Linked DNA regions of Homo sapiens: region 1 is linked to region 2. Evidence: promoter capture Hi-C in human tissues and cell types (Jung and others, 2019). All regions are on one chromosome and are shown on one strand. The core of a region is centred on a gene start or on the middle of the fragment in contact, and the rest is flanking DNA. Distances in the headings are between cores, read along the strand shown.

Evidence for each region. The method cuts DNA at HindIII sites, captures the fragments that hold promoters and counts their contacts. A contact is called where the count stands out against the background at its distance.
Region 1: a fragment that was not itself captured here is called in contact with the fragment with the promoter of KIF3B in region 2 in 1 of the 25 tissues and cell types used here (psoas muscle).

What each region holds. Positions count from the first base shown.
Region 1 is chr20:32,315,394-32,322,456 of GRCh38, reverse strand. KIF3B (kinesin family member 3B) reads right to left here. Exons shown (of 9, transcript NM_004798.4): 3 at 6,138-6,239; 4 at 5,808-5,930; 5 at 5,583-5,701. Among named protein-coding and RNA genes, the nearest start is that of ASXL1, 39 kb to the left of the region's middle. The HindIII fragment of the contact is 8,391 bases long and covers 1-6,378 here.
Region 2 is chr20:32,275,441-32,282,093 of GRCh38, reverse strand. KIF3B (kinesin family member 3B) reads right to left here and starts at 4,443. Exons shown (of 9, transcript NM_004798.4): 1 at 4,329-4,443. It overlaps LOC124904885 (a long non-coding RNA gene), which reads left to right and starts at 4,551. Exons shown (of 2, transcript XR_007067561.1): 1 at 4,551-4,790; 2 at 6,452-6,653. RefSeq lists silencers at 4,068-4,247, 4,268-4,427 and enhancers at 4,081-4,591, 4,638-4,687. The HindIII fragment of the contact is 2,728 bases long and covers 2,445-5,172 here.

The DNA of each region.
Region 1 (7,063 bases), core at 934-3,433, 43 kb before region 2:
TCTGTATTTTTGTAGAGACAGGGTTTCACCATGTTGGCCGGGCTGGTCTCAAACTCCTGACTTCAGGTGATCCGTCCACCTGGGCCTCTCAAAGTGCTGGGATTACACGTGTGAGCCACCATGCCCAGCCAGTATTTTTATATACTAGTAATTAATATTCCAAAAATAAAATTAAGAAAACAATGTCATATACCATAGCACCCAAAAAACCCTTAGGTATAAATTTAACAAAAGTGTAAGAATTATACACTGAAAACTACAAAACATTCTCGAGAAAAATTAAAGAAATAATAAATAAATGGAAAGACATCTCATGTTCATGGATCTGAATACTTAATACTGTTAAGATTACAATATTGCCCAAATTGATCTACAGATTCAATGTGATCAATATCAAAATCCCAGCTGGCTTTGTTTGCAGAAATTGACAAGCTGACCTTAAAATGTAGAGGCATACCTCAGAGATACTGTGGGTTTGGTTCCAGACTACTCCAATAAAGTAAGTATCACAATAAAGCAAGTAACACAATTTTTTGGTTTCCCAGTGCATATAAAAGTTATGCTTACACTATACTGTAGTCTATTAAATGTATAATACCATTTTGTCTACAAAAAGTATAGACTTTAAGAATACTTTATTGCTAATAAATGCTTACACAGAGACATGAAGAGAGCATATGCTGTTGAAAAAATGGTGCCAACAGACTTGCTTTATGCAGGGTTTCCACAAACCTTCAATTTGTAGAAAATGTAATATCTGTGAATTATAACAAAGCAGAGTGCAGTAAAACAAAGTATGTTTGAATATGGAAATGCAAGGGACCCTGAACAGTCAAAACACTCCTGAAAAAGAACAAGGCTGGAGGACTCACACTTCCTGATTTCAAAACTAACAAAGCTATAGTAATTAAGACAGAATGGTACTAGCATGAGGATAGATATATAGAACAATGGAACAGTATTGAAAGTCCAGAAATAAATAAATAAATGCTTAATTACGGTCAACTGACTTTCTTTTTTTTTTTTTTGAGACAGAGTCTTGCTCTGTTGCCCAGGCTGGAGTACAGTGGCATGATCTCAGCTCACTGCAACCTACACCTCCCAGGTTCAAGGGATTCCTCTGCCTCAGCCTCCTGAGTAGCTGGGACTACAGGTGTGCACCACCACACCTGGCTAATTTTTGTATTTCTAGTAGAGACAGGGTTTCACCATATTGGCCAGGGTGATCTCGAACTCCTGACCTCAGGTGATCCACCCACCTCGGCCTCCCAAATGCTGGGATTACAGGCATGAGCCACAGCGCCCGGCCCTGACTTTCAATAAGTATGCCAAGACAATGAAATGGGAGAGAAAAGCCCTTTCAACAAATGGTGCTGGAACAACTAGATATCTGCATCCAAAACACTGTACTTGAAACCCTACCTCATACCATACACAGAAATTAACTCAAATGGATCATAGACCTAAATGTAAGACCTAACACTATAAGCCTCTTAGAGGATCTAAGAGAATGAAACATGCGTCCACAAAAGAAACTTGAATATGAATGTTCACAGCAGCATTATTCATAACACCCAAAAGTAGAAATAACCCAAATGTCCATCAAATAATGAATGGATAAATAAAATGTGGTATATTTATACAACAGAATATTATTTGGTCATAAAAAATGAATAAAGTATTGATACATGCTACAACATGGAAGACTGTTGAAAACACTATACTAGCTTTGGCAACACAGCAAGACCCATCCTTATGAAAAAATTTTAAAAAATTAGCCAGGTGTGCTAGCATGCAACTGAAGTCCTAGCAACTCAGGAGGCTCAAGCAGGAAGATTACTTGAACCCAAGAGGTCAAGGCTGTGAGCTATGATGGCACCACTGCACTCCAGTCTGATTGACAGAAGAAGGCCTTATCTCTAAAAAAAAAAAAAAACTAACAAAACACACACATGCACACACACACACACACACATATGAAGAAAGCAGTCACAAAAGGCCACATTATTCCAACATTATTTCATTTATAAACTTATATGAAAGGTCCAGAAAAGGCAAATCTAGATACAATACCAAAAGTAAAATAAACAAAAGAAAATACAATTAAATTGGGCTATATCACAACGGAAATCTTTTGTGCTATAAGTAATACCATCAAGAAAGTTTAAAAACAACTCAGAATAACAGAAAGCATCTTCAAATCATGAATCTCATGAGAAAGTGGTATTCATAATATATTAATATAAAGAACTCTTAAAACTCAGCCGGGCACAGTGGCTCACGCCTGTAATCCTAGCATTTTGGGAGGCTGAGGCGGGTGGATCACCTGAGGTCAGGAGTTCCAGACCAGCCTGGCCAAGATGGTAAAACCCCGTCTCTACTAAAAATACAAAAATTAGCTGGGCATGGTGGCACATGCCTATAGTCCCAGCTACTCGGGAGGCTGAAGCAGGACAATCACTTGAACCCAGGAGGCAGAGGCTGCAGTGAGCTAAGATCATGCCATTGCACTCCAGCCTGGGTGACAGACCCAGACTCTGTCTCAAAAAAAACTCTTAAAACTTAATTATTGGCTGGACATGGTGGCTCATGCCTGTAATCCAAGCACTTTGGGATGCCAAGGCAGGTGGATCACCTGAGGTTAGGAGTTCAAGACCAGCCTGGGCAACATGGTGACACCCCATCTCTACTAAAAATACAAAAATCAGCCGGGCATGGTGGCGGGTGCCTGTATTCCCAGCTATTCGGGAGGCTGAGGCATGAGAATCGCTTGAACCCAGGAGGCAGAGGTTGCAATGAGTCAAGTTCACGCCATTGCATTCCAGCCTGGATGACAGAGCGAGACTCCAACTCCAAAAAAAAAAAAAAAAAAAACAAAAACAAAACAAAAAAAAACTATATATATACACATATGTGTGTGTGTGTGTGTATGAAATATATATATTTCATATATATACGAAATATATACATATATATATATATGAAACAACCCCATTTTAAAATGGGGTAAAGGATTTGTATAGATATTTCTCCAAAGACATACAAATGGCCAATAAGCCCGTGAAAGGATGCTCAACATCATTAGTCATCAGAGAAATATGCAAATCAAAACTATAATGAAGTACCATTTCACACTCGTTAGGATGTCTATGATAAAAGAGACAGGAAATAACAAGTGTCGACAAGGATGTGGAGAGGCCGGGCATGGTGGCTCACACTTGTAATCCTAGCACTTTGGGAGGCTAAGTCGGGCAGACTGCTTGAGCCCAGGAGTTTGAGACCAGCCTAGGCAACATGGTGAAACCCCATCTCTACAAAAAACACAAAAATTAGCCAAGTAGGGTGGCATGCCGCTATAGTCCCAGCTATTCCAGAGGTTGAGGTGGGAGGATCGCTTGAGCCCAGGAGGTGGAGGTTGCAGTGTGCTGAGACTGCACCTCTGCACACCAGCCTGGGTGGCAGAACGAGACTGTCTCAAAGAAAAAAAAAAAAAAGAAGATGTGGAGAAATTGGTGGTAGAAATGTAAAATAGTGCAGCCACTGTGGCAAACAGTTTGGCATTCTCTCAAAAAGTTAAACACTGAGTTACCATATGACCCAGCAATTCCACTCCTATGAATGTATCCCAGAGAAATGAAAACACACATCCATACAAAACCTTATACATGAATGCTTATAGAAGTATTATCCATAATAGCCAAAGACTAGAAATAATCGGAATGTATATAAACTGAAAAATAAATAAATATGTGTCCTATTCATACAGTGCAATATTATTCAGTCATAATAAAGAACAATTGATGTTGGGACTACCAGATATCTGTTGATCCATGCTACGGCATGGACGATCCTTGAAAGCGTCATGCTAAGCAAAAGACACCAGGCCAAAAAGGCCACACAGTGTGTGATTCCATTTATATGAGATGGCCAGAATAGGCAAAGCCATAGAGACAGGAAGCAGATTAGTGATTACTTCGGGTTGGGAAAGGGGGTAATGAGGAGTGACTACTAACTGGTAGAGTTTCTTTTAGAGGAGAGTAATAAAAATGTTCTAAAATTAGATTGTAGTGGTGGTTTTATAGCCCTATGCATATATATGCTTTTAAAAAAACACTGATTTGTATACTTTATCATTTTTTAATTTTTTTTTTTTTGAGACAAGAATCTCGCTGTGTCACCCAGGCTTGAGTAAAGTGGTGTGATCTCAGCTCACTGCAACCTCCGCCTCCCAGGTTCAAGAGATTCTCCTGCCTCAGCCTCCTGAGTAACTGGGATTACAGGTACACGCCATCACACCCAGCTAATTTTTGGATTTTTAGTAGAGACGGGGTTTCACCATGTTGGCCAGGCTGGTCTTGAACTCCTGGCCTCAGGTGATCCACCTGCCTCGGCCTCCCAAATGCTGGGATTACAGGCATGAGCCACCATGCCCGGACTGATTTGTACACTTTAAATATGTGAATTGTATGGTATGTGAAGTATGTCTCAATTAAGCTTTTTTAAAAACAGTATTGTGGGCTGGGTGTGGTGGCTCACACCTATAATCCCAGCACTTTGGGAGGCTGAAACAGGAGGATTGCTTGAGCCTAGGAGTTTGAGATCAGCTTAGGTAACATAGAGAGACTCTATCTCTATAAAATTTTTTTTAAAAATTAGCTGGGCATAGTGGCACACACCTGTAGTTCCAGCTACCCGGGAGGCTAAGGTGGGAGGACTGTTTGAGCCCACAAGTTACAGGCTGCTGTGAACTGTGATTGTGCCACTGCACTCCAGCCTGGGTGATAGAGCAAAACTCTGTCTCAAAAAAAAAAAAAACCACTGTGATCATATATATATATATATAAGTATGTAGGAGTGAGATAACATGAGGTTAAGATTTGCTTTAAAATATTTTTGTGAAAGATAGATGGCAAAAGCTTGTTAATCCTTGAATCTGGGTGATGGGTACTTGGGTATTTATTATACCATTCAGAAAATTGTCACAATAAAAAGTCAAGTTAATAAAATATTCCCTCTTATCATCAGACAGATGTAAGACCAGAATCTTTAAAAGCTTCGAGAAGGTAGGGTTAGAAGGGAACTTGGAGATCACCTGATGAAGTCATTCAGTTAACAGATGGGATCCAGAGATGGAAAGTGACTTTTTCAGGAATGAACAGAACATGGGGTGGCAGGAGATGAGCTGGAGAAGGACCTGTCCTCAGGGCTATTTCTTTTTTTGTGTTTTTTTCTCACTCCGTCGCCCAGGCTGGAGTGCAGTGGCACGATATCAACTCACCGCAATCTCCACTTCCCGGGTTCAAGCGATTCTCCTATCTCAGCCTCCCAAGTAGCTAGGACTACAGGCATGCACCACCACGCCCAGCTAATTTTTGTATTTCTTAGTAGAGACGGGGTTTCACCATGTTGGTCAGGCTGGTCTCGAACTCCTGACATCAGGTGATCTGCCCGCCTCCGCTTCCCAAAACACTGGGATTACAGGCGTAGGCCACCAAGCCCAGCCAGGGCTGTTTCTAACTAAACAAACGAGATCAATGACTCAGCAAGTGGCTTGGGGGCACTATGGAAGGCCTGGCACTTACTTGAGTTTCAGCTCCCTGGTGAGCTCATTCTGAGTCTGCTCTAGCTCTTGGCGCTCCTTGATGTGTTCTTCTTGGAGGTCATGGATCTCAGCCTTCACTGCCTGAAGCTTGGAGAAGAGCTGGAATGAGGGGAGAGGCAGGTGAGGAGGGTGTCTGTCCAAAGGGTAGAGTTCTCCCTTTCCCCAAGTCTCAAGGCAACTCCATCTGGCCTCATTCCTTTCATACCTTTTTGAGTTTTTTGGTCTTGATGTCCACCTCTTGCTGCAATGAGCTGTATGTCTCTTTAAGTTCCAAGGTCTCCTCATCTCGACTTTCCATCTGTTGCTGGATTTCTCTTTCTCGACGTTTCTGAGCAACATGACAAAATTCATCAGCTTGCCCTAGAGACTGTGTCTATGCTGGGTTCCCCAAGCTAGGATCAGAGTCTCCAGCTAGGATGAGGCAGACACACCTTGCTCTCATTCTCTTTGAAGAGAGTCTAATATGAGACGTTTGCTCTGCAGCATAAACACACCTTACCTCACCCATTCTCCCTGAAAAAGAATGAAAAGTTACCTGCTCTGCAATTTCCTGTCGTTTCTGCTCCAGGATTTTCTGCTGTTCATTCGTATGATCTACTATATTTTTTCCTCCAACAAGCAACTTACTCTCCATGGCCTGAGTGAGAAACAAAGTAGAATCCATCTCATGAACGGTTTCTCTCAGAACATAATTCCTCACAGGGGAGCCTGTGAAAGATAAAGAGCTCAGGACTGAGCCAAAAGGGACAAACTCTGGGAAAAAATACACTGTGCTCAGCTGTGCCCATCCATCACTGGTGAGGGACTGGGGCAGCTTCACTAGAGGCTTCTTGGTAACACTGAAGATACAGTTTCTTCAGATACATGAATTTCAGCTTTAACAAATTTTTTTTTTTTGCTTGTTTCTACAAAGTATTAACCCCACTTAGAACATATTAAGCAGACCCTTTATGTTAGGTCCTGGGGATGCAATGTGAGTGTGAATCACAAAGCTCCGAGTCCACTGAGGAAAACAGACAAGCAAGCAGGCTTTAACCATATGGCGCCAGATGCCATCATGAGGAAAGGACACAGTAATTCATGGGAGAGGCACACTGATGGGATAGAATTCAGACTCTGTGGGGATTTTTTAAAATTTTTTAAAGACAGGGTCTAGTTCTGTCACCCAAGCTGGAATGCGGTGGCACGATCACAGCTCACTGCAGCCTTGACCTCCTTAGTTCAAGCAATCCTCCCACCTCAGCCTCCCAAGCAGCTGGGACTACAGGTGTACACCACCACACTTGGCTGATTGGTTGATTGACTGATTGATTGTAGAGGTGAAATCTTGCTATGTTGTCTGGGCTGGTCTTGAATTCCTGGCCTCAAGAGATCCTCTGCCTTGGCCTCTCAAACTGCTGGGATTATAGGCATGAGCACAGCGCCCAGTCAGAGAATTCAGACTTTTAGAGGGAGTCAGAG
Region 2 (6,653 bases), core at 3,194-5,693:
AAAAACAAAAATAGATCATGCCACGTCCCTTCTCCAGAACCTCCAATGATTTCCACAGCTTTTAGAACAAAATCCCAACTCATTACTCTAGCAGACAAGGTCCTGTATGATCTGAGCGCTCCCTACCACTTCCATCCCCTACATCCACCCACCTCCCCACTCTGCCTTTGACTCACCTGTCCCTGCCATTGTAAGCCTTCTTGCAGTTTCTGGAACTTACCAAGCTTGTTGCCACCTCACAGCCTTTACCCTTGCTCTTCCTTCTGACATGTCTTCAAATGGCTGGCCCGTCCCTGGGAGCAAATCTCAGCAAAAACGTCACCATCCTAGCAAGGCCTTTTCTTTTTCTTTTTGTTTGTTGGGTTTTTTTTCTTTTTGAGATGGAGTCTCGCTCTGTTGCCCAGGCTGGAGTGCAATGGCGCAACCTCGGCTTACTGCAGCCTCTGCTTCCCAGGTTCAAGCAATTCTTGTGCCTCAGCCTCCTGAATAGCTGGGACTACAGGCACGTGCCACCACACCCAGCTAAGTTTTGTATTTTTAATAGAGATGGGATTTCACCCCAGCACTTATTCCTCATCCAAATTCCCTTGTTCATTTACTGCTGTATTTTTCTGTTTGCTGCCAGTAGAATATAAGCTGCATGAGAGCAAGGGACTCTGTACCTTTCTACCATGATATCTCCAGGCTAAAACAGAACTGACACATTCTAGGTGCTCAGGAAATACTGAATAAATACAATCCGGGCAGGATAGTGGTAAGTACACTGAATTTGAAGACAGAAGACTGGATTTCAACGTGAAATGGGCCACTCAATAGCATCATGGCTTCTTGGCTTCCATTCAGATTCCTCGACTATAAAACAGAGATCCTAATCTGCACCTTACCTTCCTTGAAGGGACACAGATAAGATTAAATGAGTAAAAGCATGTGTAAGCAAGTGTAGGCATTTTTGTAAGCCATTAGGCACCTTATTGTTATTGTCAAGTATTGCTACTCTCTGTTACATAAGACGGGGTCTTTCTCAGGGACTTGCGAATTAATGGATGAAAAGGCTTAGGAAGCAATCTGAGGTTTCTAATCCAGGCACCTAACAGAAGTCTAGGGACACAACAAAACAGATTAGAATCAGTGGCTTCACTCTGCAGCCAAGGCAAACATAAGATATGAATTCATTTAAAGATGTCAAATGCAGTAATTTGCAAATTAAGCTCTGAGTTCCTCGAAGGATATGGAGATGGGATTGACCTCCACATCCTCCATGTGCCTAGCATAAGGGGATTTAGCAAATATTTACTGAATTGGATGTTGAGCTACTAAACCTAACGTCCTACCATCAGCTTTCATCTTTCTTTCTTTTTTTTTTTTTTTTTTTTTTTTTTGAGACGGAGTCTTGCTCTGTCGCCCAGGCTGGAGTGCAGTGGCGCAATCTTGGCTCACTGCAAGTTCCACCTCCCCGGTTCACGCCATTCTCCTGCCTCAGCCTCCCGAGTAGCTGGGACTACAGGCGCCCGCCACCATGCCCAGCTAATTTTTTTTTTCTTTTAGTAGAGATGGGGTTTCACTGTGCTAGCCAGGATGGTCTCGATCTCCTGACCTCGTGATCCACCCGTCTTGGCCTCCCAAAGTGCTGGGATTACAGCCGTGAGCCACCATGCCTGGACAGCTTTACCTTTCTTTGCAACCCATTGTGGCACATGATTACAGGTTCCTGGGGCCAACTGTATAAAAATATCAACATTTATATAATGCCATGATGGCTACTGTTTCATGCTTGCAATGACATTATGGTTGACGGACCTGGTATTATCACATACTTTAATTTATTCTTTCACCAACCATACACGGAAAATACAGCACAAGCACCACGTTAAACCCAAATAACGATAGCTAATGTTTACCAAATATGCTGGGCACTTCACATATATTAAGTTCAAATAAATCCTCAGAACAGCCATACATGATAATAAGGCCACAGGTAATAAGGCCTATTACTATCCCCATTTTACAGATGAGGAAACTATACCACCAAGGGGTTCAAAATGAACTATGAATAATTCTTCCTCACAGAGCCCCTTACCAAAAAGTCCTCTCATCATTTCAGAGGTACTGAGCATCATTTCAGAGGTAAAGTAGCACCTCTTTGCTCAGTAGCACACAGCTTGGAAGTGGCAGAGCCAAGATTTTAGTCCAGGTAGTCTGATTGCAAGCTTTTAACCACAACTGCATAACAGCACTGAAAGGGCCTTCAGTATAATCTAGCCTAGTCCCCTCATTTTAATGAGGAGGGAATGAGGGACAGAGAAGCCCTCTTTTAAAGATTCCAGCTCTCAGGCTGGGCACAGTGGCTCATGCCTGTAATCCCAGTCCTTTGGGAGGCCAAGGCAGGCGATCACCTGAGGTCGGGAGTTTGAGACCAGCCTGACCAACATGGAGAAACCCCATCTCTACTAAAAATACAAAATTAGCCGGGCATGGTGGCACATGCCTGTAATCCCAGCTACTTGGGAGGCTGAGGCAGGAGAACTGCTTGAACCAGGGAGGCGGAGGTTGCAGTGAGCTGAGATGGCACCATTGCACTCCAGCCTGGGCAACAACAGCAAAACTCCGTCTCAAAAAAAAAAAAAAAGATTCCAACTATTTTCTGAGATCCTCACTTTGGGTGGTATCTATTTAAATAAAGCTTTACCTGAGATCTTGTTTCCTTGCCTTTTAACTTCTAGCCAGTTAAAAGTAACAAAAGAATACCCCTGTGGCCTTATAATAGCAACTGTTGCAAAATCAGAGGCAACAGTGAATGGGGGATAAAATACAGGATTTACCTAGAAACACGTCCACTTCCATCACTTAATAGATACAAGATTCTTAGGCAATGACTGGGTGTGGTGGCTCACGCATGTAATCCTAGCACTTTGGGAGGCCGAGGCAGGTATATCACTTGAGGCCAGGAGTTCGAGACCAGCCAGGCCAACATGGTGAAACCTTGTCTCTACTAAAACTACAAAAATTAGTGGACGAGGTGGTGAACATCTGTAGTCCCAGCTACTCGGGAGGCTGAGGCAGGAGAATCGCTTGAACACACGAGGCGGAGGTTGCAGTGAGCTGAGATCGCGCCACTGCACTCCAGCCTGGGCAACAGACTAAGACTCTGTCTCAAAAAAAAAAAAAAAAAAAAGGATTCTTAAGCAGGTCCTTCCCTTTACTTTTCTGAACCTCAGTTTCCTCATCGGCAAAATGAGGATGACATCACCAGGCACCTGGCAAAGTCTACATAAAGATTAAATGAAATAATATGCCTGGTAAAGTGCTTCTTAATCATATGCTTGTAAATAGTTATTACTGCTTTAAGCACTTCCCAAAGGACACAAAGATGCCTTTTTTCTTCTGGAAGGGTCAACGAAGCCCAGGTAGAAAATGAGACCATGACCCCAGCTATCTACAAGGGGTTGACCTCAAAGAGTTTCCCAGGACTACTTGTAGAAGTACCTCCCTTGCTCTGAGCAGAATGGAGAAGTAAAACCGGGGTTGGGGGTTGGCATTGCAGTAGGACTACCCATATGAGCTGGCACTCTACACACCTACACCTTACCTGTCCCAAAGTCATCTCCTCCTGGAAGTCTTGCCCTCCTACCCTGGACGCCTCATAATAGCTGGTTGAGCACTTACTATGTGCCAAGCTACTTGACATACCCAGTCTCACTGATTTCCACAGTAGTCTATTACCTCATTTCACAGATAAGGAAAAGAAGACTCAGAGAAATTAACTTGCCCAGGGCCACACAGTTACTAAGTGGAAATGCCACGTCTCTAACTCGCTCAGACTTCAAACTGCCCTCTTGGTCTCCCATCTAGGGTGCCCTAAGAATTCTCCCTCTCCCCATTTAGGGCACTTTCACATACACTTCTCATTATCTTTACCACTCTGAGCAGCAATGTTAGGACCCCATTGAATAAACAGGTCAGCTAAGGCCAGGGAGGTGAAAAGACTTGCCCAAGGTCACACAGCAAGCCCAGCACAGCGCCGAGGTTCGGACCCCAGGCTCTCGCTTCCCCGCCCTCCTCCCAAACTGGGGCCCTGACCACCGCCTCAGGGCCCCCAGGTGGGCTGCGACCCAAGGTGGCCGTGTCTGGGGGTCGGGCCGCGACCCTGCCAGGGGAAGGAGGGGCAAGGCCGTCCGGACTACCAAAGGATGCCTAGGAGGCAGGGCAGAGGATGCTCCGGCTCGCGGGACAGCAAAGCCAGGCAGAGGCGCGGGCGCAGGTCGCAGGGAAAACCCCAGGCGGCCACAGGATTAGCCCTGCTCGGTGGGCGCCCGGCCCCTCCGACTCACCTGAGGCCCGAGCCGAAAGCGGGCGGCGGCGGCGGCGGCGGCGGCGGCGGCGGCGGCGGGGGCGGCGAACCCCTGGCTCAGCCATTCCCCGCTGCCCCGGATGGGGAGAGACAGTGGCCGCTCACTTCCTTAGCAACCTGGCTCGGCGACCCACTTCCTTAGCAACCGGTGTCAATTTCAATAACTTTATTGGCACACGAGCAGAGGACAGGGAAAGCCGGCTGGAGGGGTCTGGGCGGGGCTCAGGTCGGTGCTGGTGTTTAGCGGGGGCCCAACACACCTCGGTCTCCTCACCCACCTAAGCGGGGAGAGTGGCGCACAACGTGGCCTGACTCCATCCTCTGGTATCTCGTGCCTCAGTTTCCCATCTGTAAATGGAACACACGCGATTTCAGCCGCCGTTCAACCTTTCTAAAAGCTTTCACATCCATTATCTGACTGGTGTCTCAAACTGCTACTGAGGTAACTCCCATTTAGGGTGCCCCCAGTGACTCAATACGAACACCTATAGGCACCCTTGTTGTAGCTTTCCTGTCCTTCACCCAATCCAGTCAGTCACAACCGCCCCAGGCAAGGCCAGGCCACGCTCATCTCTAGCCTGCCTGAAATATCTGGTCTGTTTCCATTCTTTTGTCCAGCTCTGTCCGAACAATCCATTTTCCATAAGGTGGCCAGAGTAATTATTTAAAACAGATCATGCGGCCAGGTGCGGTGGCTCCCGCTGTAATCCCAGCACTTTGGGAGGCTGAGGCAGGTGAATCACCTGAGGTCAGGAGTTCGAGACCAGCTTGGCCAACATGGCGAAACCCCGTCTCTAATAAAAATACAAAAAATTAGCCGGGCGTGGTGGCGCATGCCTGTAGTCCCAGCTACTCGGGAGGCTGAGGCAGGAGAATCGCTTGAACCCGGGAGGCAGGGGTTGCAGTGAGAGAGATGGCACCACTGCACTCCAGCCTGGGCGACAACAGCGAAACTCCGTCTCAGATATAAAGATTAAAATAAATAAATAAATAAATAAATAAATAAAACAGATCATGCCACTTTCTGATTAATACTCGATTTAATGGAGTCTCATTGCTCTTAGAATCAAATATGAAGTCCTTATTACTTCCTGCAAAATTCGTTAAAACTCTATTCCAACCACACTGGCCTAGAAGGGCAGGTTCCAACCCCCATGGAACTTACACCTGCTGTTCCCCACTAAATAGAAACTGCATAAGAGCAGTCTTTTATTTGTTCACTCTTGTATCCACCATGCCTGGAACCAAGCTTAGTCAATAGTAGTTGCTGAACAAATATGTTTTGCTCCTTGAATAAATGAATACCTGAGATGGTCTTCTTCATCTGCCTACAACTACTTTTTGCCTGTTGTGGCAGATATTGCTACTTCCTCTCAAAAACGTTATTTCTTCCTGCTCCTGGACACACAACTAGACAGTATTTCCCAGCCTTCCTTACAGTTCAGACCAAGTTCTGGCCAATTAAATGTGATGTGTGCTATTCTCAGGCCTGGCCCATTAAAACTCCCACATAATTTGATTTACACTTTCTCTACAGTGAAGAAGTTTATTTTTAAATAAAATAATAAAGGAAATACCAAAAGAGACTGCACCCAGCCTCTTTTGGTATTTCCTGAAGCTAATAATTGCCTCATTTTTTCCCCCCTTTCATTAGCTTTCTTTGCAGATATTGTTAATTTTTTCCTATGTGGTTAATAAATTAGACAAAATAATCAGCAGTGATTTTTCCAGATGTGTAACATAACAATTCGGCTAGGCATGGTGGCTCATGCCCATAATCCCAGCACCTTGGGAGGCTGAGGCAGGCAGATCACCCTGAGGTCAGGAGTTCAAGACCAGCCTGGCCAACATGGAGAAACCACGTCTCTACTAAAAATACAAAAATCAGCCAGGAGTGGTGGCAGGCACCTGTAATCCCCACTACTTTGGAGGCTGAGGCAGGAGAATTGCTTGAACCTAGGAGGTGGAGGTTGCAGTGACCCGAAATAACCCTATTGCACTCTAGCTTGGGTGACAAGAGCAAAACTCCATCTCACAAAAACAACAACAACTTAAAAAAAAAAAAAAAGTTCATGAGTTCTCTTTTGTTTTTTTCTCCTGAAGGCTTCAGCTCTGATCTGGACCAGTGCTCTCCAGGCCTACTGCACAGCTGTCATACTGAACTTTCCTATATCCTACACCTGGTTGGGATTCCCTGTGCCCTGGACCTTGTGTCTCAAACTTCTAGATTGTGGATTTACTCTGTCATCTCTGTGCAGCACATCTTTCTGTAGATTCCTGAGAAAGGTTGCAAAGAAGCAAATAT